Regions from separate parts of the Homo sapiens genome. Here regions 1, 2, 3 and 5 are each linked to region 4. The links are contacts of gene promoters, found by promoter capture Hi-C in blood cells and fetal thymus (Javierre and others, 2016). All regions are on one chromosome and are shown on one strand. The core of a region is centred on a gene start or on the middle of the fragment in contact, and the rest is flanking DNA. Distances in the headings are between cores, read along the strand shown.

Evidence for each region. Contacts are between HindIII fragments. The CHiCAGO score rates a contact against its expected background, and 5 or more counts as called.
Region 1: a fragment that was not itself captured here is called in contact with the fragment with the promoter of PCDH9 in region 4 in 2 of 17 cell types (M0 macrophages and endothelial precursors); the score reaches 5.8 in M0 macrophages.
Region 2: a fragment that was not itself captured here is called in contact with the fragment with the promoter of PCDH9 in region 4 in 1 of 17 cell types (fetal thymus); the score reaches 5.5 in fetal thymus.
Region 3: a contact is called between a fragment that was not itself captured here and the fragment with the promoter of PCDH9 in region 4, in 2 of 17 cell types (total B cells and naive B cells). The highest score is 7.6, in total B cells.
Region 5: a fragment that was not itself captured here is called in contact with the fragment with the promoter of PCDH9 in region 4 in 1 of 17 cell types (M2 macrophages); the score reaches 5.9 in M2 macrophages.

What each region holds. Positions count from the first base shown.
Region 1 is chr13:65,668,470-65,673,261 of GRCh38, forward strand. No RefSeq gene overlaps it. Among named protein-coding and RNA genes, the nearest start is that of LINC01052, 200 kb to the right of the region's middle. The HindIII fragment of the contact is 2,199 bases long and covers 2,072-4,270 here.
Region 2 is chr13:66,219,163-66,224,289 of GRCh38, forward strand. No RefSeq gene overlaps it. Among named protein-coding and RNA genes, the nearest start is that of MIR4704, 3.5 kb to the left of the region's middle. The HindIII fragment of the contact is 748 bases long and covers 957-1,704 here.
Region 3 is chr13:66,134,293-66,139,644 of GRCh38, forward strand. No RefSeq gene overlaps it. Among named protein-coding and RNA genes, the nearest start is that of MIR4704, 81 kb to the right of the region's middle. The HindIII fragment of the contact is 3,798 bases long and covers 1,400-5,197 here.
Region 4 is chr13:67,228,592-67,233,522 of GRCh38, forward strand. It overlaps PCDH9 (protocadherin 9), which reads right to left and starts at 1,745. Exons shown (of 5, transcript NM_203487.3): 1 at 1,189-1,745. RefSeq lists a silencer at 2,016-2,155. The HindIII fragment of the contact is 4,939 bases long and covers 1-3,412 here.
Region 5 is chr13:65,626,124-65,630,932 of GRCh38, forward strand. No RefSeq gene overlaps it. Among named protein-coding and RNA genes, the nearest start is that of LINC01052, 240 kb to the right of the region's middle. The HindIII fragment of the contact is 5,353 bases long and covers 324-4,809 here.

The DNA of each region.
Region 1 (4,792 bases), core at 1,921-4,420, 1.6 Mb before region 4:
ATAATATTCCCTTAATATTATCTCATTTCTGAGGTGTCTGTTTTAATTTCTTCATGTTTATTTTTCATTTATTGGAGTCTTTTTTCTTTTTGTAGACTACCTAAAACTTTGTCAATTTTGTTTATTAAAAAAACCTGTTTTATGGATTACTTCTGTAGTTTTTCTGTTCTCCATTTGATTTATTTTTGTTCTGATTTGTAATTATTTTCTTCTGTCTGCTACTTTTGGGTTTAGTTTGCTTTTCTTTTGTTCATTCCTTAAGAAATAATGTTAGACTATATATTTGGGGACTTCTTTTCTAATGTATGCATTTATTCCTATAAAATTCCTTCTTACAATTGCATATGCTGCATTTCATAGGTTATAGTATGTTTTGTTTCCATTGTTATTTGTCTCAAGTTATTTTTAATTCCCCTTTTGATTTCTTCTTTGATCCATTGGTTGTTTAGGAGAATGACATTTAATTTTCACAAATTCCATATTTGTGAATTTTCTAAAATCACAAATTCCATATTTGTGAATTTTCTAAAATCCTTCTATTATTGATTTCTAGTTTCATAACATTGTTGTATGAGATGATATGGATATGATTTCAATCTTACTTGTTTTGTGGACTAAGATATGATCTATCCTGGAGAATGTTCCATGTGCACTGACAAAAAAAGGTATATTCTGTTGTTGTTGGATGAAAAGTTCTACAAATGTTGTTAGGTCCATTTGGCCAAAAGTGTAATTCAAGTCCAGTATTTCATGTCCATTAATATTTGCTTTATATATTTAGGTGCTCCAACATTTAGTGTATATACATAAATATATACACACTATATATATACACACACTATATATATACACTATATATATACAGTAATTATATTATCCTGATTAAAGGACCCCTTGATAATTAAATAATAACCGACTCTGTTGCCTGTGATAATTTTTGACTTGAAGTCTGTTTTATCAGATATAGGGATAGCCATCACTCCTCTCTTTTTGTTATCTTTTGCAGGAAATATTTTCTTTCACCCTGTCACTTTCAACCTATATGTGTCCTTAAAGATTTCTAGTGGGTGTCATATAGGTGAGTCTATTTTTTTAATCCATTCAGTCACTTTATGTCTTTTGATTAGAAAATTTAGTCCATTGAGAGTTAAGGTTATTATTTATAAGTCAGGACTTAATATTTTGTTGTTTGTTTTCTCATTCTTTTGTAGTTCCGTTGTTCCCTTTTATCTCTGTTGTCTACTTTCATGATTTAATAGGATTCTGTAGTGTTAAACTTTTATTTCTATCATCCATAAATTTTCTGTAGTTTTTTGTTTTGTGTTTTTCACGAGGCTTACATAAAATATCTTATTATCTATTCTAAACTGATAACTTTTATTGCATTAAAAACTCTAGAATGTTATCCTCCCCACAAGTTAAGTTTTTGATACCACAATTTACATATTTTTATATTGCATATCTTTATCTTTGACAATTTTTATTTTTCCATCACAATAGAGATATGTATGATTTACCACACCAGCATTACAGTATTAGAGTATTCTGGACTTGACTACTTACCTCTAGCAGTGAAGTTTATATTTTCATATGTATTCATGATAGTAATGATTGTCTTTCTGTTTCCACTTGAATAACTTCTTTAAGCATTTCTTGTAAGGAGAGTCTAGTGGTAATGAGTTCTCTCAGCTTTTACTTGACTGCCAAAGACTTCATTTCTACTTCATTTCTGAAGCACAGATTTGCTTGGTATAATATTCTAGGTTGGAAGGTTTTTTTTTTTTCCTTTCAGTGCTTTGAATATATAATTCCATTCTCTCCTGGCCTACAAGACTTCTACTGAGAAATCTTCGGATAGTCCCGTGGATATTTCCTTATATGTTACTTGATACTTTTCTTATGCTGTTTTTAAAACTCTCCCATTGTTTTTTACTTTTGATATTTGATTATAACATGCCTCAAAGAGGACATCTTTGCTTCAAATCTATTCGAGAATCTTTGAGTTTCCCCGATCCGGATGTCCGTATCTCTCACAAGACTTGGGAAGTTTTCAGGATTTATTTTATTAATAAGCTTCTGTCTCTTCTTCTTTCTTTCAAAAACATTCACAATAAGGATACCTATTCACTTAATGGTGTCACATAAGTCCTATAGGCTGGATTAATTATTTTTCTTTTCTTTTTTTTAATTTTTTAACTGCATCTCTAATGGAATATACGTCATTTCAATTGACCTATATTCGAGTTCATAAATTATTCTTTTTGCTTAATCTAGTCTGCTGTTGAAGTGGTCAGTTGTATTTTCCATTTCATTGATTGAATTCTTTAGCTCCAACATTTCTATTTGAGAATTATTTATGTAATCTCTTTGTTGAATTTCTCATTTAAATTACAATTTGTTTTCCTGATTTTATTGTATTTTCTATTTTTATTCTTTTGCCTAGGTTTTCTTCCAGAGTTTTTATGATTTTAGGTCTTACATTTAAGTCTTTAATCCATCATGAGTTAATTTTTGTATAAGGTATAAGGGAGGGATCCAGTTTCAGCTTTCTACATATGGCTAGCCAGTTTTCCCAGCACCATTTATTAAATAGGGAATCCTTTCCCCATTGCTTGTTTTTGTCAGGTTTGTCAAAGATCAGATGGTTGGAGATGTGTGATGTTATTTCTGAGGCCTCTGTTCTGTTCCATTGGTCTGTATGTCTATTTTGGTATCAGTACCATGATGTTTTGGTTACTGTAGCCTTGTAGTATACCTTGAAGTCAGGTAGCGTTAATGACTCCAACTTTGTTCTTTTTGCTTAGGATTGTTTTGGCTATGTGGGCTATTTTTTGGTTCCATATGAATTTCAAAGTAGTTTTTTCCAATTCTGTGAATAAAGTCACTGGTAGCTTGATGGGGATGGCATTGAATCTATAAATTACCTTGGGCAGTATGACCACTTTCACGATATTGAGTCTTCCTATCCATGAGCATGGAATGCTCTTCCATTTGTTTGTGTCCTCTTTTATTTCTTGGAGCAGTGGTTTGTAGTTCTCTTCGAAGTGGTACTTCCATCCCTTGTAAGTTGGATTCCTAGGTATTTTATTCTCTTTGTAGCAATTGTGAATGGGAGTTCACTCATGATTTGGCTCTCTGTTTGTCTGTTATTGGTGTATAGGAATGCTTGTGATTTTTGCACATTGATTTTGTTTCCTGAGACTTTGCTGAAGTTGCTTATCAGCTTAAGGAAATTTTGGGCTGAGACAATGGGGTTTTCAAAATATACAATCATGTCATCTGCAAACAGGGACAATTTGACTTTCTCCTTTCCTAATTGAATACCCTTATTTCTTTCTCTTGCCTGATCGTCCTGGCCAGAACTTCCAACACTATGTTAAATAGGAGTGGTGAAAGAGGGCATCCTTGTCTTGTGCCACTTTTCAAAGGGAATGCTTCCAGTTTTTCCTCATTCAGTATGATATTGGCTGTGGGTTTGTCATAAATAGCTCTTATTATTTTGAGATACATCCCATCAATACCAAATTTATTGAGAGTATTTAGCATGAAGGGCTGTTGAATTTTGTCGAAGTCTTTTCTTGCATCTATTGAGATAATCATGTGGTTTTTGTCTTTGGTCTGTTTATGTGATGGAATATGTTTACTGATTTGTGTATGTTGAACCAGCATTGCATCCCAGGGAAGAAGCCCACTTGATTGTGGTGGATAATCTTTTTGATGTGCTGCCAGATTCGGTTTGCCAGTATTTTATTGAGGAGTTTCGCATCAATGTTCATCAGGGATATTGGTCTAAAATTTTCTTTTTTTGTTGTGTCTCTGCCAGGCTTCGGTGTGAGGATGATGCTGGTCTCATAAAATGAGTGAGGGAGGATTCCCTCTTTTTCTATTGATTGGAATAGTTTCAGAGGGAATGGTACCAGCTCCTCTTTGTACCTCTGGTAGAATTCAGCTGTGAAACCATCTGGTCCTGGACTTTTTTTGGTTGGTAGTCTATTAATTATTGACTCAATTTCATTGGTCTATTCAGAGACAAAACTTCCTACTGGTTTAGTCTTTGGAGGGTGTATGTATTCAAGAATTTATCCATTTCTTCTAGATTTTCAACTTTATTTGCGTAGAGGTGTTTAAAGTATTCTCTGCTGATAGTTTGCATTTCTGTGGGATCACTGTTGATATCCCCTTTATCATTTCCTATTGTGCCCATTTGATTCTTCTCCCTTTTCTTGTTAGTCTTGCTTGTGGTCTATTTTGTTGATCTTTTCAAAAAACAAGCTTCTGGATTTATTGATCTTTTGAAGGGTTTTTTGTGTCTCTATCTCCTTCAGTTCTGCTCTGATCTTAGGTATTTCCTGCCTTCTGCTAGCTTTTGAATTTGTTTGCTCTTGATTCTCTGGTTCTTTTAATTATGATGTTAGGGTGTCGATTTTAGATCTTTCCTGCTTTCTCTTGTGGCCATTTAGTGCTATATATTTCCCTCTACACACTGCTTTAAATGTGTCCCAGAGATTCTGGTACGTAGTGTCTTTGTTCTCATTGGTTTCAAAGAACATCTTTATTTTTGCCTTCATTTTGTTATTTACCCAGTAGTCATTCAGGAGCACGTTGTTCAGTTTCCATGTAGTTGTGAGGTTTGGAATGAGTTTCTTAATCCTGAGTTCTAATTTGATTACAGTGAGGTCTGAGAGACTGTTTTTTTGTGTGTGTGATTCCTGTTCTTTTACATTTGCTGAGGAGTGTTTTACTTCCAATTATGTGGCCAATCTTAGAATAAGTGTGATGTAGTGATGAGAAG
Region 2 (5,127 bases), core at 81-2,580, 1.0 Mb before region 4:
TAAAAACCCTGTATTATGTGTCTTTCATGTGCTAGCATTGGGTTATATCCCTAAGGATTTAAAGATAAATTAAACATGATTCTTTTCCCCATTATGCTCATAGACAGTATTTATGGAAGGACTTTGTGCAACTCTAAAGGGTAATATAAATGTAATATATTGTGAGTCACTTCCAAAGTTTAATATGCAACCCAACCATTCCTTAATTTACTAAATCGTAAATCAGAATCAATATTTCAACAGATTGGAATTATGCATATATTATGAGTAAATTGCAAACAAATACAGAAGATAATTTGAAAATTAAATGTCAACAGGATTTGCAATAGACATTTACCATGTCTCAAAGTAAGAAAACCTGTTAGAATAAGTATACTGTGGGCAATCTCAGTGTTACAAGGCTGCTAATGAGCCTCTAGTACACTAAGAGACAGCCCCTAGGGATGAAAGGGGAGGATGGCTTATTCTTTCACTGAACTCTTAACTGAGGCAGCTAACAAGGTGCCCAACTGTGATTTAGACACATATCCAGTAGAAACTGGAGATAGAGTGTTAATTTAGTTTGTAAGGGTCACTGAACTAATTCCATTAGGTGACAACTTATGGTCACTACTGATAGGAACAAGAATACAAACCCGAAGCCAAAAAAGAGGGAGAAGAATTTCTTGAACAATCTCACTTACCAGGAAAAGCAATGAGAAAAGAAGCAGTCACTCAACTGAGATGCCTATTTTTGTTATGATATTTAGGTCCTGGAACACCTTTCCACACATGACAGTCACAAACAAAAATATGTAGTGTGACTAGAATATATAAACAAGGTCATGAAAATAAAGTTGATATCCACTAAGCCTTTTTTTAGAGAGCTACATCCACTTCAATCCTTGAAGAAAGTTGTCTGTTCAAAGGATAACAACTCGCAGGGTTAGATGTTAAGAAAGGGGAGTTATCAAGGAAGCTTACAGAAGGGATATTCAGTGGTCTGTCTTGGGTACTGGTGGGCTCTCTTTCCATAGCACAGCTGCCGGCAGCTGGCCAGCACCTCAGGCAGGCAGCTGGTAGGGGAAGAGTGGCCTCTGCCAGCTGGCACTAAAAAATTAAAATTAAAATTAAGGGAAAAAAAAACCCACCCTGAGGCACAGATGCATAACAATCAAGCATTCAGTTTCTGGTGTTCTCCCTTATTCTTCAGTCCTTAGGGAAGCCCAGCAGTGAGGTAGCTCCTCTCTCCCCAACCCAAGGTCCCCAGGCTGCTTTTCTCTGGTTTAGATTCCCTTTTTGGAGGTTTCTCTGTGTTCATGCATCCAAAACACAGTTCTTGAATCATAGCATGTGCCAAGCAATGTGCTAAGGGCTGAGGATGGAAATATAGAAATGAATTACATTTCCTTACTTCCATCAAGGTGCAAATTAAAAGGGCTATAGCTGATTTTTAAATGCCCATAAATAACGACAGAAAGTTGGATGACCATAGTGCTTACGAAACATAGAAGAGAGCCCACAGTGGATGAAGCAAGACAAGTATCACATCAAAAAAGAATAAGAATTAAGGCTTTCTCAGCTGAACAAATGGGAATAGCCTCTTTAAAAGGAATGAACATGAGGAAATAATGGAGGCATAAAATGGAAATTGAATTTTAAAATGTTACTGTACTGTTAGAGTACAGTCTGAGCTGCTACAACAAAAAGACCAAAAACTATAGAAGCTTTGAAATGTCATATATCTCTCTTTGATGGTATGTTTCAGCCAGATATGGCTCATAGGACAGCCCTGTCATCCTCAGTATGCAGTTTCTAGCTTCTGGATTACAGAAGTTGCTTGAGCTCTTGCAATCATTCCTATATCTCAGTTGGGGAGGAAAGGGCAAAATCCCCTCTTAAAAGAGCTACATAAAAGTATTATCTCCACTCACATTATCTCCACTCACAGAGAGCTTCAAATGAAGCTGGGGAATGCAGTAATTTGCCGAGTAGTCTTGTGCCAATCTAAAACTTAGGAATTCAATTAAAAACCAAAAGGGATAATTAACATTGGTAGAAAGCCACCCTCAGTTAGGAATAAAAAGTAAATCTATGTAAACATAGTTCTCATTCTTCGTGCATAATGAGTTTTATAATTTTCTCTGTAAATTATTTCATTCAAGATTTACATTCCCTGGGCTATTACCAGGACTGAAATATGAATCATTTAATGAACTATATATATCAGAGATAAGTTTCGAACAAGACATTGTGGGAAGTATTGTGGTGATAAAAAAATATGCTTAGGTGGACTCTAATAAAAATGGAATTTTAAAATGACAAAATATTATCATGGAAAATGAAGAGATGAATACACATTATTAGAGCCAGTAGTGTTGTAAGTTGGTCATCAACCTTCTTGACTGATTCATGGTACTCACTATAAAATAGACCAAATAGTCATAAAACTTTATTCTGTCAAGTCAAGAAACCGCAACTAAAAATAATTTTGTTCAACCTCCATTTTATCCTATCTCTCAATCTAGCCATCAGATTTTGATCTATGTAAGCCTCAAGGTAATACATTATTGCTCCTAGAGTCACGGTATATTCCATATAGTCACATTTCATGCATAATGAAGATGGCAGTGAACTACAAAGGTTTTTATCAACTCAAACAGGAATACTAATGTTGTCTAAGGGCAATTTATGGTATGTATTTTAAAAGAGTAAAAAAAAAAAAGTAGTTTTTAGGTCAATTCATATGTAGGGAAAAATTATATGACTTGGAGACATTTTGAAAAGACAAAATCTTTACCTTAATGGATTTTAAGATTCCTCTCTATTTCATAAAATTTATTTTTCTTCAATATACATATATATGAAAGAACGTATTGACAATTTAAAACTCACAAAACAAAGGTTTTAGTATAGATATTTTCTTTTTAAGTATTTGATTGCCTATTTTATGCAAGGCATTTTGCTAGATATTAGAATACAATATTAGATAAGTCATTTATCTTAATTTGGATAATTTCGCTGTAAGGATAAAACAGTCATCAAAAATAGATCAAATTAAAATAGTATGTTGTTAGAGATATTAAGAAGCAATCCACACTCATTTAAGAACTAAATGTTCACAAGGTTGGGCTTACTCAAGACCAAGTTGTGAAAGGTTTCTAGACTCAAGGAAGCCCTGGGGACCTTAGCAATATGTGGCGACTTTCACTCTAGTGTCCTCCCCTTAAGTACGACTCAGATAATTAACAGAAGGCTGGGTTGTGTTCTGGGTTTTGTTTTGTATTTTGGTTGTCATTCTATTTTCCTTTTCTGTTTCTCTACCAACTGACAAATTCATTCTAATATTCTTAGTTAAAATTGCCAAGAACAGGAATCCGATTCATGCAAATTCTTTCCCAGTCCCTGCTACAAATCATAGTCCCTGTCTTTAGTTATGTAGGTAGGTGAGTTCACAAAGTATAGAATCTCATCATTTATAGCAGATAGGCCCTGGGGAATTAAAGTCAAGGTTTTGATATCATGAAGTATACCTGCAAGCTGTTTTAAATTGTAAATTGACAAAATTCTTCCTGAGCAAACATTACCATTATCATTGACATGTTTTATAAAGCACTTTAACATAAACTATCTGAGGTATATTCACCTAAAAATCCTATAATGTAAGCAGAAGTGATCCTCAGAATAGTTAGTAACTTGTCTAGCATTTACATGAACCAATCAGAATGAATGCCCAAAATTTCAAATTGAATTGTTGTCACAAGCAGTCAGCATAATGAGCCATCACCTGCTGCCTGAACTGCAGCCCTGGATCCAAAGTCAGCCTTTATTTTATACCCATTTTATGGATTAAAAGAAAATAAAGTTCATGAGTGGTTATATGACATGTTTTTGTTTTCTGTCTCAAAAACCCTAGCAGTTTGCACACTTTGCTTCCATCTGTACCCTGTTACCTATTGTGACATATCACATGCTCGAAGGCCACATCTGGGACTTTCGTAAGTAGCAACCGTTTTTCTTTTCTGTGGTTTCTAACATGCTATATAAGATTTTATCTCTATTGTATTTCCCGTAACACTGACCTTCCATTGGCTTCTTTCTCTTTTCTACAGAGTATATTTTTGGAGGGCAAATCTGTTAATGTGTATTCTTTATGCTCTGTACATCCTATGTAAGATCATCAGTAAATATCTATTTACATTTTTTTGAAGGGCAGAGAAATTAGCAAGTGTATGTTCATGGGTTTAGATGAAGTAGAGTGTAGTAATTATGAACACCAACTCAGAAACTCAACATTTTGGGTACAGGTGTAAACTACACCACTTCTAGCCATGTGATCTTGGACAGGTTACTTATGCATGCTATAGCCATGTTTCCTCAAATGGAAAATCAGAATGATAAAATAATACTTAGTTCAGAGAGTTGTGGAGTTCAAATGCATGTAGAAAGCTTAGCATATTGCAGAATATATGTAAGTGCCAACAATAACTTATGGCTGTTATACAATCTGTAATATAGACTCCTCTGCTTCTTATACAGTGAAGGCATGCATTGCCCAGAGGGATTAGAGTTCAAAGTCAGTGCATGCAACAAAACTTGCAAATGTTTCCTAAGTAATTTTTAAGTAATTTTACTCTTTTAAATCTCTTACTCATCAAAAAAACACACTCGTATTTTCTATACAATTCTTAATATATCTAAGTATGCATAAATGCATAATGCACTTACTAGCGTATTTTCTATAATATTCCCTAGAAGGATCCTATTTAGACATTAATTTATTCAAGCCTTTTATTGCATAGAATTCTTCAACAAAATTACCAGGCTTCCATCTTCTTTATTTGTTGTTTTGCATTTGTCTCCCAGCTACAGCTAATTTTGTTAGGCAATGTTTTCTTTGGCTCTTAATTAGTTCTTCAATAGCTTTCTCCAGGAGGTCCAAGAAACCTATAACTATCTTCTTCCAGCCAGTCCCTCTGGAATGTTCTCAGCCTCCTTTTCTCTCTCTCAAATGTAGTTGAACTGAGATAACTTGAAAACAAGTGTGCTGTGATAATACTGTGTAATTTACTTATAAATTGTCTCTAGTACAAGGCATGTTTGGATTAGCCATATAAACAGTGGTTATCATTATTACATATATATAAG
Region 3 (5,352 bases), core at 2,049-4,548, 1.1 Mb before region 4:
GCCTAAAGACAAACAAAAAGGACAAAAGTGAAGAAACAGTAAAGAAACGGAGAAGGATCCTTGATAAAACCAGGTCTCAAGCCTTTCTTACCTCTAAACTACTCAGATACATGACCTGATACATCTCCTCTATTTGAGATGAATTTCATCTTAGATATATTTTATCCAGTTTAATTACTAATTCTCAAGTATATTTTAAAAATTATCACTTGTCACATTAACTGGATATTTATAACAGCATTTCTTCTACAGTGGTGTAAATTGATGATTGTATATGAAAGTCATTCACACACACACATTTCAAATACTATGTATGTTTTCATTGTAAAAAATTTATATATTTTTATTTTTAAGTTATTTCTATGATGAAGTTTTCTCCAGTTCAGAGATTCTTTTCTTCTCCTGCTTTTTTCATGATTTTTTTTTCAAGCATTATTTTTTTTTTAGTCTATGCTACTTCTCTGCAATATGACTGACTAAAATGTTTTAGGAGATAGGTCAAAAACTCAGAGCCTTGTAAACTCTTCCATTTCTCTCTAGGTCACTGAATGTCTTCCTTACCACTGAAGTATACACAACTTGGAAAAAAATAGAATTTTTATGTAGACAGGTGGAAACAAATATTAAATACATTGATAGATTTGATAGATGTTTGAGAATACATATTATATGTCTATGCCAATATGGCTATATTATCATTATATCATTTTACTATGTCCCTTGTAAAGATGCTACCCTGATACCTACCATTCTTTAAACTCCATATGAAATACCGTACTCCTTAAGTGTGGGTTGCTTGGTGGCTTATTTGCAAAGAGTAATATAGAGAATAATTTCACAGTGGAGCGACCTGGAATAGACTGCCTTAGCTAGGTGATCATGATTAGCATCAACACTGATTAAGTCATTGATTCATGTATTATTGCTATGATCTGATGAGAATGGAACTTACCACTGCAGTCTTCCAAACAAAACTCCATAACTCTAGTCCAATCATGAGAGACACATTAGACAAATCCCAATTAAAGGTTGCTACAAAATATCTGACCAGTATTCCTCAAAACTGTCAGTGTCATCAAAAACAAAGGGATATATGAAGTTCTTACAGTCAAAAGGAACCTAAAGAAACATAACAACTAAATGCAATATAGTATTCTAAAGAGGATCACGGAACAGGGGGAAAAACACATTAGGTAAAACTAAAAAAATCTAAAAAAAAAAAGAGTATGGGCCTTAGTTAGTAATAATGTATCAATACTGATTCATTAACTATGACAATATTAGTACAAATATACTAATGTATATTGTAAATAATATAGGAAACTGAGTATGAGGTATATGGGAACTCTCTGTTCTATATTCCCACTTTCTGGGAAACCAAAAGTATTTTAAAATAAAAAGCTTATTAGTTTATAGTTTAAAGAATAAAGTATATATAAGATTCTTGAGCTGGCCTAGCTTAGCAAATTATTTTCCTTTGACCCATGACACTAAGTCCCAAACTAAAAACAGGTGAAGTGACACCCTGGAGCATTTTCTACACCCATGACATTGAACTCTTGAGCTTCTACATATAGGTAGGGAAACAAAACACACAAAAAGGAAAGAAAAACAAGGAAAAAGAAGGCTTGCTCTCTGGCTTTTTTAACTATCAACTTGTTGGCTTGTCACAAGCCGGAGAGCTGTTGTGCAAGTGTGAAGAGCCCAGGAAGAAGCAAAGGCCAAGAGAACACTTGCCCCAGTCCATTTCTGTTTACTTGTTCCAGTCCCCACATTTCTTTTCCTTTGTTTTTTGCTTCTAAGCACCCCAGAATCATTGGTGTCCCTCTATATTATAACTTCTTCCCCTAAATACTGAAATACTCACACAGCATTTATTGCATGTTACTTAATCAACAAATACATTTGAAATAGCATAGATATTGTTAATACAAGTTATAATATATTTTAAAGAGCTAGTAGAGTGTGGTCATAATTTTAGGACATGGTTAGTTACATATGACATGATCTTTAACAATAGGTCTTATTTATAACTTTAAGGGAAATTATAGTGAGAGAAATATGAGACATATTCTCTTGTTTGTAACTTCATTGCCATCAAATGTTGACTTCTATACTAATGCATATGTAGGAGGTATGTATCTTGTGACAAGGTTTTACTACAACATGTCTTTTGTTACATTATTTAGTGTAAACTTGTCTCTAGTTAATAATTTTTTCCCATGTAAATGCACACTCATCTTCATGTTGCCCTTTCATCCAGTCTCATTATCATTTTTACATTGCTAAGACTTCAAATATAAAGTTACAGGTGGATAGCTATCTGTTGCCATGTAGTGAATCACCGCAAACTTAAAGACTTCATACAACATATATTTGTTATCTCATATTTCTGTGGTCAGGAGTCCAGGTATGACTTACCTGACTGGTTAGGGTCTCAAAAGGCTATAATCAAGGTATTTGACAGGCTGTGTTTTCATCTGATGGCTTGACTGAGGATGATTCCATATCCAAATTTTCTCACAGTGTTGGTAGAATTTATTTCCTTGTGGCCATTCAGCTGAGGGCCTGCCTTCTTGCTGGCTGTTGGTAAGAGGTCATCCTCAATCAATTCTGAGCAGCTGTCTATAATTTTTAGAGGCAATGTCACAAGTGATTGAAGTAGAAAACTATCCTTTCACTGACTCTAGTTACTAGCAATGATGTATCTGATAGAAATTTCTAGCTGAAGAGCAAGAAAAAGCAGATGTTAAGAAAGTATCATCTATTATATACTCTGACAGTTAAAAATATTTTCAATTCTTTTGTGTTAGTCCACAAGACAGCTGAAAAAAAGGAAGGTGGAAAACACATACATGTAACCCAAAGGATGTCAGCAATTAGAGAACTTTGCTTCTGTGTCACAGATGGCAGATAAATGTGACATCAATACAAATTTTTGACATATTTTAGCTATGTAAATACCTATTTTTTAAAAAACAGGACAGAGATTACTATTTAATAATTTTGATTCCTGTATGCCAAATTAAGATTTAAGGTCTAAGTTGACCACACAGGTCAATCTTTTTCACTCCCATTTTTCACTGCTGAAATGAACAGTGTAGAACTGAAAATGAAAGAAGCAAAAGAACTGTGTTTATGAGCTTACAATTTTTGAGGAGAGTGCTTTTAAGAGACTTCAGAATGAAGTCACTGAGCAATATTACAACCATATTTTGAAAACCCTTAAAATGAACTGTTTGCAATGCTCTCATAAATGCTCTCTTCTGAGCTCAACCATTTCTGTTTTCTTTCTGCCCATGTGCTTGAATGTTGCCCTAGAGGCTAAGGAATATCAGTCATAAGCACTAGAGTCAGACTGTGGCCAGAGTTGATACCAATGTACAAATCTATCTTTCTCCATTTGAACAGCCTGCTAAGTTCTGCATGCAGCCTCTGGCTTTGAATGGTTTTTTAACTCTTCTGTAATGTATACTCTGAAAATATAAGGGCTATATTATTTTTTATCTCTCTACCCACTGGCCTTTTTTCCCTTCTATTCTCTCATTTGAATGTCCAGTTTAGATCTAATGAATCTGATGATTACCTCAAATTCCCTAACGTGAGTGTCTCCAACAATATCATGGTTCCAAGACATCTTTGTCTTCTTCTTCAATTACACAAATGACGTATTACGAAATAGAGCAAGAGAGCAAACAATAGCAATTTAATTTTAGAATAAAAGTATTGTCCAGGTTTCTCTACAGCCTGTGTTTAATCAATAACTTTAAAATAAAATAGGAGTAATAGGAGAATAAAGGCATATGATAAAGCACAAATTTCGGGTACAGAATAAAGTTCTCTCAAAGCCTTTGGCTCGGAAAAAAAAAGATAAGAATAATATCAATGATGTTGCTGACATTTTCTCTACTTTCCCTCACTGTCCACTGTTGTCTCTTCACCCTTCTAGACTGTCTTAACTATTTCAGAGGATTAAACCTAGCTGTTATACAAAAGCACATCCAGCAGACTTGGTTTTTAACCGAAAACTAAAATTGGGCAATTTTGCTACTTATGTCCACCCAAGTGTTAAATGATGTATCAGCAAAATAACCATTTGTAAACTCCCCCTTCTGTAAATGAACATTTAGAAATGCCGTGTCAAAGACAGTTCAGTTCTACTTTTTAAAAGGGCATATCCTGTTCATAAACATAGACGCCTATTCTTACTCATATCAGAATACAGACCATTACCACTGAATTGGAGCTACAGCCACACTCATAAAATAAAACTAGTGATAGTTTCTCTACTAAGAAACCAACCACACGTATAAATTCATACACATTATGTGGTTCTGGTGTCTGCCATCTGCAGCACATAAGCAAATTCCCCTAATTACTGACATCTCTCCACGAAGGCCCATGTTCTCTATGTGTGTTTTCCACTTCCCTTTTCATCAGCTCCCTTGTGGACCAAAAGCACCACTTCTGCCAGGTGAGCTTAACAGATGTCATCTTCTGATCTTGCCAGTAAAAGGTCTGTTGCTTTGTTTTTAGTTGGGATTATTTCTTGTTAGATTGTACAATGATTGTGCTTTTCAAACTGAGCCACCAGCTTGTAGCCCATGTTTCAGCATACGATCTTTATCAGAATTAGAAATTATAGTCTCAGAACACCTATGGCACACCCATAAGAGGTATATAAAGCATGCCAAAAAAAACCCCATGAAAACAGTGATGAATGAAGAATATGATGGGGCCAGATACCAAGAAATGAGAGCAAGCAGTACTCACACCTAGTGTGTGTGCAAGAGGTAACACCTAGGGATAACTCCCGGGTCAAGGCTAACAGGCATGAGGAAGAAAGCAAGGTATGTAAACTTGGAAGATGACAAAACATTTTCATAGAATATGTTTCTTTCCCGCAATTTTTCTTTGAAAATTCCAGGTTCTGCCCCTGTATGTTAGCCTTTTTTTAAAAAAACAAACAAACAAACAAAAATCCTAGTATCTGAGGCCACTGTTTCTGTCAATGAAGACTATGTTCCACTATGTACTTCCTCAAATTAACCCAATTCTTTGATGTCTACCTATATTTTTACTGGCATCTCCTTCCTGTAATAAGCATTGATTTCCTTCATTTCTACATTACCATCGTGCTTATGATCTTTACCTTACAAAGCTAAACTTTACTCAGTCATTCCACAAATATTTACAAAGCTTACAGCATGTCCCAGTTGTCCTTGACATATGTTAGCTTTTTTCTTCTACTTAGATATAAACACTTCAAGAATAGGTATTTTGCGAGATAAACGTGTTTTCATCTCTCCTGTATTCTTTAGTATAGTATAGGACACAGAGTTGAAATTTAGT
Region 4 (4,931 bases), core at 495-2,994:
ATAGACAATATTATTCTTCAGTAAATAAAAACACACCGTCACAAAATATCACCACACATTTTCCCCTGAACATTAGTAAACATGGCAGTTTGCTCTGCCACTGTTTGCAAGTTTACTCTGTGGAGAAAAACACTAAATATCTCCTGCTGGTTGCATTTGCCGGGAGAAAATAAAATTTTCTACTTTTGAATTAAGGACAGCTGCTATTTTTACCTATATTCACGCACGTTGTTTTTCAGAATACTGTTTAATTCAAAACATGCATTCTTGTTCTCCTCTTCCCCTCCCCCTGTCTCACCCTCCTCCTAGCCTCTAACCTACCTCCCTCAGTCTTTTCAGGTGCAAGTGAAAAACACTAAGTATTTAGCTACGGTTCCTGCTAATTGCTTTGTCACATGTCAAATGTGTTTTCTTCTCTGCCCCACTGAGTCACCTATCTTTTCTAAAAAGGCTATCTTTTTCTTTCCTCCCAGTTCTTCAACTGCCTTCTAATACAATCTTACTGGGAAACGAGCATCCGGACATGCCGCTGCAGCGGCATCAGAAGCAATAGTCACCGGCCTCTACACATCCTCATTGCCTAAAAGCACAACAACAAGACTTCAGATTTCTTGCCCACAGCTTGCTCTCCTTTCTCCATATTGACAAATTATCCTCATTAGGATTCATAAACACATTAAAACTTTTAAAAATGTATAATAATATAGGATTCATTTTCCTAGAGGTGGAAGAGAGTGCCGAGATATAAGTGAAACGCAGCTAACATTCCCATGTAACATCACAATATTTTCTACTGAACATAAAAGAGAAAAAAAATGCAATTTCTTAATCCTGATCTCTGGTTAGAATATTAGTAACATTTGCCACACATAAATACTGCAACCCAATCATGCAGGTAAAAAGGCTTCTGCTTAGATAACTGCAGTTTAAATGGGTGCAAGGCTCCAGGCAGCTACCTACTTGAGTAGGACTGGTCAGTTCTCAGGCTCTAATCTTATCTGCATTAGGCTGCACAGTAGCTGATGCCCGCGATTAGTTCCGGCAGAGTGATGCAGGTAGGGATGCAGATACAGCCGAGTAGGTGAGCTCTGCCCCAACCGTCTACCCAATTACAAGCATCTTTCGCCTACACTGAGGACACATCTAAACACAGAATTTACAATTGTGCATGCGAAACTTTACACTTACGTTAGTTGCCTCAACCTTTCCCCTTTCCCAGTATGCTGCAGTTAGGAATGATTTGTTCCAACACATAGAAAGCCATGCATCTGGTAGCACCAGTTTGGGGAGAAATCAGAAGCAGCAAAATGTTTCCTCCTTGTAAAATGTGTTGCTTCGGGCTGGCAAATTAGCAACTCCAGAGAACAAATTCACGGATTTGTCGTTAGTCATTCTCTCCACATTTCGTCTCTCTTACCCACTGGGTCTGGGTTCTTCTGGGCATTTAGCACACACAACACATAGTTGCACTTCTTCAGCTCAGGGATATTTTCCACAGCAGCATGCATACCATTTCCATCCGATGCCAATACTGCTTAAGTCTCTAACTTCTTGTAGGAAACGTCAGAGTTGCGGTGATGATGATTCTCTGACAGCTATCCGGGTGACAGTTGCCCGAAAAATTCCTAATCGGTTATCTCTTGCGTGCTTCAGAGACTCTGAGGCGCTCCTTTCCGTCTCGCGTGCTCTCCCTCTCTCCCTTCCCCTCTGCCCCTCTCTCCTTCTCCCTCTCCTCTCTCTGAACTGAATTTCTTGATATAACTCTCAATAAGCCCAGAGGGAGGGCGTGACTGCCCAGGCCCCGCCCCCGGGCTCTGATTGGCCTGCATCTTGCGGCGCGGGCGGCCGCAGCCCGGCGCGAGGGAGGGAGCGCGGAACAAGGCGCTGACTGTCTCCCAGCCTCCCCTCCTCCGCGCCCCCTCGGCAGCAGCGAAAACCCGGAAATCTGATCCTGGCCCCAGGAGAGCCGGGTTCCATGAGGTGCACTGAGCATGCTCTGCAGGGTCCGGCGTGGGAGGGACGCGCTGGCGCTCCCCAGGCCCGGGCGGAAGCGGCGCTCGCAGGCGCTGAAAGCGAGCGACCCTCTGAGCCCGGGTGGTCCGGCGGGCAAGGGCGGCGCGGGAGACCCGCAGGGCGCGGGCGCGGATCCGGGGAACCAGGGCCACCGCTGCGGGCGGATGGGGGTCACCGAGGCGGCTCGTCTCCAGGCGCACACTTCGCACATCTCTTTGCTAAGTGAAGGGGCCAAAATGCACAGATGGGGGAGTCTACCCAGGAACAGAGGCGCGAGACGTATAGCCACCCCTGGGTTGGGAGCACGAGCCAGCAGATCCCCGGAGCGCGTTAAACGGACAACATGCCCGGTGCTGCAAATAGAGGCTTTTGCTGGCAGGGACATTGGAAAGAAGGGCGGAGAGGGAGTACAGCGAAAGGTGGGGACCGCAGAATTTGGAATCTCTGCGGAGACCGGAAAGAAAATTAATCGGAGCACTTCCTACATGCAGAGCCACGGAAACTGCCTTGGAAAGAGAAAGTGGCAGCGTCTGGGTCCCCTCGGTCAGCCCGGGCCAGTCGGCTGCGCGTGCGAAGTCTCCTCTAGCGGAGCGGGACCGGCCGCGGCGGTGGATCGTGGCGGTCCCTGCACTTCTGCTCCAGCCGCGCCTGGAAACCTGAGCCCGGACTCGCGGCTGCTGCAAAACCCGCTTCCAGCCCACCTCACTGCGAACTTTGCTTCCGAGGGGCTGGAAGGAGTCCCAGGCAGCTGTTTCCCAAGCTGTGGAACACTTCCTTTCCCCTAGGCACTTTCTGCTGATTCCAACTTTCTTTCCTGTGATTTTCGTCTTTTCCCGTGCATTTCATTTCTCCGACTCCAGCTCTGTACTAAATCCTCACAAGTTTCTCGTTTTCATACGGGAACTGGATGGAATGACTCCCCAAAAAATACAGCTTTATTTCTCAAATACTGACCCCCAAAGCACTATCTAGTAATATATTTGATTGATCTTTCAAAGTCAGTAAACCACAAAGGTTTGTGTAATGGCTTGTACTTAACGCCTGATACCTGAGTAAAGTTTGAAGCATTAACATAGGAACAGTTCACTTGGAACAAAAATTTATTTTCTGAATGACCTATAAAGGTTGTCAGAGAAGGTCTTAGTACATGATTGAATAACTTGGTCTAACTTACAGGAAGAATAAAGGGCATTTATTTTAAACCTGTGTGTTCCCCATTCTATAATGGGCTGCCTAGGCATTAAAGGCTCTTGACATACTTAAGCTCTTGACTGAGGGCGTGTTGGAGATTACCCCTTGTTTTTGAGTACAATAGTTTTGTTTGCTTTTTTTCTTTTTTAAGTAACATTTGTTTTTAGACGTTTAAATGAAAAGTAAAAAAAAAAAAAAACACCAATCAAGCTTACTAAGCCATATATTGAATAAATAATGACATGATTTAACCAACTAATTTGACATCACAATTTTCCAACATGAAATTGTAAGCTCTTTTTAATTCAAACTTTTCTGAGTTAATATTCACAGTTCAACTGCAGTGTCTAAAAGCCCACTGTAAAATCCATTAATCCCTTATATGTAAAATATAAAATACTTTCCTTGCAGATAATAGACTGATATTTTTTAAATAGCAAAGCAACTTTTATTATAGTAATATTTTGTATGATTAGAATATATAAAATTCAAGAATAGAAAGGACTTACAAGTATCCCAAAGTGAAAAGAAAAATATTGCCTCACAGAATAATGTCAGTGAATGAAAGGATGATTCTTTTATCTTACCACAGTAAACGATCATTTTGCCATTCACAAAATCTACAATTAAAGCTAGTACATTGTTCCAATTGTCACCTATTTTATGCACTGCACTGTTTTTAAATAAATGAACCATCATTGTGATACATTTACAATAAACATAGCAGCACAGCCACTTTCCAGTTCATTTCATAAGCACCACAGTTATATCATATTCTTATTCTAATCATACCGTAGTCATTTCAAAGTCATGTTGTAGTCGCAACACATAGCTTAGCAATAATTATTTAACATCATTATTAAACGGAGTTGTTTCTCTTTGCTAAGGATAGCTTCACGTGTTGGCAGAACCCATTATTACCTCCTGCTCATAAATGAAATCTTAGTTTGAACACAAGATGAAGGTTAGAGAAGAGAAAAAAAAAATCATCACATGATTCAATTAATGACTATGAGACTTCAATTAAAGAAAACCACAGGTCAAAGCCCCAGAATGAAATATGTCTAGATTCTTTTCAAAGGAGATGGAGTTTCAGAGACAAATAGAGCTATGGACTCAGGGCATTATATCCTTTAGGTGTTTATTTGGCATTATCTGAACGACTGAGATTCCTTAATGTTCTCAGTTTTACCTCTTAAATCTAGAATAGTTGAGGCTGGTTTGCCCTATAATAATCCGACTTCTAAACTCTAAAATGAGAACTATTATTAGAGATCTTATTAATATTCCTAGAGGAAAATTAAATATAAAGGGTCATATTCCTAACCCTGTGTTATCACAACTTAAGGTTTCTTCCCAAAACACTATATAAATCATTTTCATAATGAGAGCTGTTCATAATCTACCTCTCCAATATTAATTTTTTAAGTTAGGTCTGTGTAATTATGAATCAGGAAAATATTCTTAATTTCAGTTTTTGTAAGGGAACACCTATTTGTTTTTATGCTGTGTTTTATCATTGTTTTTCCTTAGTGAATTTAATAAAATGTTAGATTTCTAATATCGATCTTCCAGTATATATATTAGACTTTTAATTAGATCTCTTTAGTTAACCCTTATTCATCTTTGTCAAAGCGTATTTTCTACTGCAAGGAATTATGATGTTTTCACCTGTGTTGTACCTGATTAGTAGCATCAGGATACTAATGGGAATTACGCCATTTGAG
Region 5 (4,809 bases), core at 1,750-4,249, 1.6 Mb before region 4:
AGCCAATTGAGCAGAGAGACCAGGCTGATGGACTGAAGTTCTAAATTAATGTTTAAAAAGGGATAACAGCACTGTACAGTAGTTAAGAGCACAGAATTGAGAATAAGATGCCCAGGGTTTCAATACCAGCTCTACTGCCTACTTGGGAGAATTTATGTTAAATTATTTAACCTCCTATACCTGACAATGGTAGTATTCCTCCCAAACTCCCTTGGATCTAGATGCTTTTCACTGTTTTTGTTCATTTCATCCCCAGCTGTGTTATTTATTTCAAACTGCCGCACCAAGGATGCCATTCAAAAGATTCCTATTTGCAAGTGTGAAGCTTTTTTGCCACATGTAGATAGTAGGATTTGCCTGGACACTCACAACTGTCTGGGGTATTGTTAATCAATGAGTAATTGGGGCAGGAGGGTGAACGTTTAGCTCATTTTTCTCCAGGACAAAATATAAAGCATAATCTGTACTTCACAGCTTCTCTCTGGGATAAGGCCACACTTAGCTTGAAATTATACCCTCTCTTGGTTTCTTTACCTTTCCCAACCTGTTTTCTCCACTCTCTACTTGTTTCTCCTTTGGGCACTTTCTAGCTAAATCTTTTTGCAACAAACCTCATCTCAGAATCTCCTTCTGGAGAAATTGACTAAAGACATCCAGTTTTCCCATCTTCTAAAATTGGAATATTGTTCCTATTTCAAAGGATATTGTCAAAGTTTAATGGCATATATAACTATAACTAGCACATATTATGTGATAAATGCATATTAGTATATTAATTATAAAATAGTAAAACTAAATGTGTTCCACTTAATAAAACAATAAATTGTTGAATGCCTAGTTTATAGTAAGCAAATCCTGAACATCAAAAAATAAGAAAGCAATTATCTTGTCTTTATTTTTATGCCTATACAGTCTGTCTGGAGAGAGATACTTAAGCCAATACTAAAAATCCAGTGTTGGCAATATGAGTGCATAGAGTGCTAATAATTTTTAAACACAAAAGAATAATAAGGCAGGACATAGTGGTTCACCCCTGTAATCCCTGTGCTTTGGGAGGCCTAGGCTTGAGCATTGCTTGACACCAGGTGTTCAAGACCTTCCTGGGCAACATAGCAAGATTCAATCTCTACCAAAAAATAATAATATTAAAAAATAGCAAGGCTAGTAGTGTGCACCTGTATTCCTAGCTAATTGGGAGGCTGAGGTGGAAGAATCACTGGAGCCCAGGAGTTCAAGACTGTGGTGATCTGTGGTCACACCACTGCACTCCAACCTGGGTGACAAAGCAAGACCCTGTCTCTAACAACAAATAAAATGAAATGAAAAGGGACACTTTGAGTACCTAAATCAGTCCGAGTAGTCAGGGAAGAGATATATTAGAATGCCTAAGTAGTAATTACACAATTTGAAAAGTGGAAAGGGGAGTGGGAGGCTGAAAAAGAAAACAACAAAACAATACATATAACTGTTATGGAAGAGTTTTGCTAGTTTTTTATTGTTATTGTTACTATTATTTGAGTTGGGTACAGGTGTGTTTGTGTTTGTATCTACAAGTGTAAGTCCAAATGTGTGTTGTCATGTATGTGTTTGTCCATTTTAGGATGTGTGTGTGTGTGTGTGTGTTTCTGTATTGTGAGTTTGGGGAAGTAGGTTTGGCATTGAGGCAGAAGGGATAGGCAGAAACTCCACTGGCATTCTATGATATATTCAAGAGTCTATACTTCATCCTGAAGGCACTGTCAAGTCACTGAAGGATTTTGGTAGGGGAATGAAATGTTAGAAAGACAATTCTGGCAGCAGTGTTGAGAATGGAATTGAGGGCAGGGATAGTAAATAGGTTTTCAACTTACATGCCAACTCTGATCAATTGGTAGTGGCTGGCTGGAGCACTTTTTGAGAAGGATTTTGAGGTCTTGTCCCGGCTTAGTGAGAATGAGCACCATGATTGATTATCAATGTTTTCCATTTATTCCCCATGTTCTAATATTTTCTTTATTGAATCTGCCTTCTACAATGCATATTTGTTATAGATATCAGATATAGATCAACTGATATCATCGTAAAAAGCTACGTATGGAAAACTTTTCTTCTCTGAAGGCTTCTAACCTTGAAAATGCAATAAAATTTTTATTGTCTAGGAAAAAGTCTATGGGTTAACACAGACTTTAGCATGTAAACATATTAAAATCATTAATTTGTTTCAGTTTATTTGCAAACACTCTTTGGAAGAAGAGCTCTTGTAATCCATACCTGTTGTAGCATTGGAATAAAAATGAAACCACACACACAAATAAGAAGGAAATTTTAAGATCACTTAAAGATTATGAGAGACTAATATTGTGTTTGTAAATACATTAATTTTGCCAAAACTTTCTTCCTCTTCTACTTCACATAGACTAACTGTCCCTTATATTAATTTTTGTACTTATTGCTTTACTGATTTATATTTAATTGGCTACATGTTGTAAAAGATTATAGTATCAACTTTAAAAAATATTCTCTGGTAGTAGAAAGAGTACAGCATTTGGAGCCAGACAAACTTACTTTTTAATCTTGGCTTTGTCACGTACTAACAGTCAGATCTCAGGCAGGTCTTTCAGTGTGCCTCCTTACTTTATTAATAAAGTTTTCATAAGGACAAAATTTCATTCTCCATTAGGCCAAGTGCATCTTGAGTCAAATTTCCTAAGGCCTACACAAGAAAAAAATCATATGGTGGCTATTAAATATCAGCGTAACAGTAAATTGAGTTTTTACGGAAATACTTTGAACTACATTTATTCCACATGGCTATTATTACATGAATTTTGAGTTGAAACACAGCTTCAAATAATATTACACTACCCAAAATGCACACACATGTGATCAGATGTGAGAGTAAATACGGGAGATTGTTACACTTTTCAATGCCTAATAATCGGTGTTTCAAATGACACCTTCATTAACGGTACTGTTTTAATTGCAAACTTTGTTTGAGTCTATTAAATATAAAATTTTTGGAAATGGAACAAATCACTTTACACAAAATAATGGTTTTTGTACTGCTTCAGATAACTCATACTTTGAAATTGATTGTGGTTGATTTGAAATATGTTCGGTGTTTTTCTACCCCATCAGGTGCTACATTAATAATATCCCAGGGCAGAAGCTGCAAAACCTAAAAAATGGAGCAAAACTTGTCAAGAAAATAGCTACTGGTGGTGAGTGGTGGCTCACACCTGTAATCCTAGCACTTTGGGAGGCGGGTGGATTGTCTGAGCTCAGGAGTTTGAGACCAACCTGGGCAACATGAAGAAATCCTGTCTCTACTAAAATACAAAAAATTAGCCTGATGTGGCAGTGTGCACCTGTAGTCCCAGCTACTCAGGAGGCTGAGGCAGGAGAATTTGCTAGAACCCATGAGGCAGAGGTTGCAATGAGCTGAGATCATGCCACTCCAGCCTGGGTGACAGAGCGAGACTCCGTCTCTAAAAAAAAAGAAAGAAAAAAAGAAAAAAAGAAAAAAAAAGAAAAGAAAATGGCTACTGCAGTAGTCAAACATTTGGAAAAATATTGTTCTAAAAATTAGCATCTTTGATCCAGCAATAAATGTATAGTAATTTTGATAGAAACAAGCAAAGTATGAAACTATTCTTCTAATATTGACACTCAATATATTTTAAAACATTAAACATTTCAAAAAGCGTTCCTTGAAATGTTTAAATATCACATAAAATGGATCACCATTTAATACACCATCAGTGCATCATTGCTCATTTAGATAATGAACAAAACACTAGAGAAATGAGCCATTTTATAAATCTTTGCTATATTTAGAATTAAAATCTGTCTGTTTTGTGGTCTTTAGGAATTTTATTTCACACATTATCATCTTTTTTTCATTTAATAGAAGCATGGGGAAAGAAAATGTACTATCCAGTCATGGTTGAGTTTCTTTATGTTGCACTTCAGTTTTCTGGGCATTCCTAGTAGCTTTTATTTCACAGTTGTTTCTTGTTTAAGTCTCACACAAGATGACAACAGCATGGGGCAAATCATTTTTGGCTTAATTTGAAATGCTGTTTTCAGGGTATTTTAACAGCAGCAATTCTCATATGAGCAAGTAAAGATCATAAATGTTATCCGTATCTCCCCAGATAAACTACAAATAGAAAAACAAACACATGACAGAACTTGTAAAGTGATAAAGAAATTTCGTATGTCTAAGCCTTGCCAGTGTATTTTAAACATGGACAAAATGTATATTTATCAAATTTGACATACTCTAAAAAGAAACCAGGTAAAAACATGAAAAATTAAAATGCTTATATATAAACTCTACAACTGAAATCTAATGTTAATCTATACTATCTAGGTGAAAGATATGGTAGGTGTCAAAAAAAACCATTATAAAGTCAATGACTGTGGGATGCGTGTGTGCCTTGGAGTAGAGATGTTCTTAAAAAGAAACCATCAAGGCCCTCTGGTTAACTTACTGAAAATGTTCTGAAATTTTTTCAACAAAGGTGGATTGGTGTCAACTTATGAGAGTAGAAATTGTGAATTGCAGATTTTGTATTCTTTCTTGCCAGCAAATGACCTCCCATCTGTTGGTTAAAAAAAAAAAAAAAAAGAACCTGTGAGATGGCCAATTCACCTTACTTAAGCACAAACTGTTACTACAATTATTTTCCATCCATTGTTGTTTTATATATTACACCAAATTTATATTGGGTAGAAATAATTTTTTCAAATGTTATTTGAGAGAATAATAAACATCTCATTTATTATGTTTTTAAATGCAAATCCCCATTAACTTCATTCACTTCA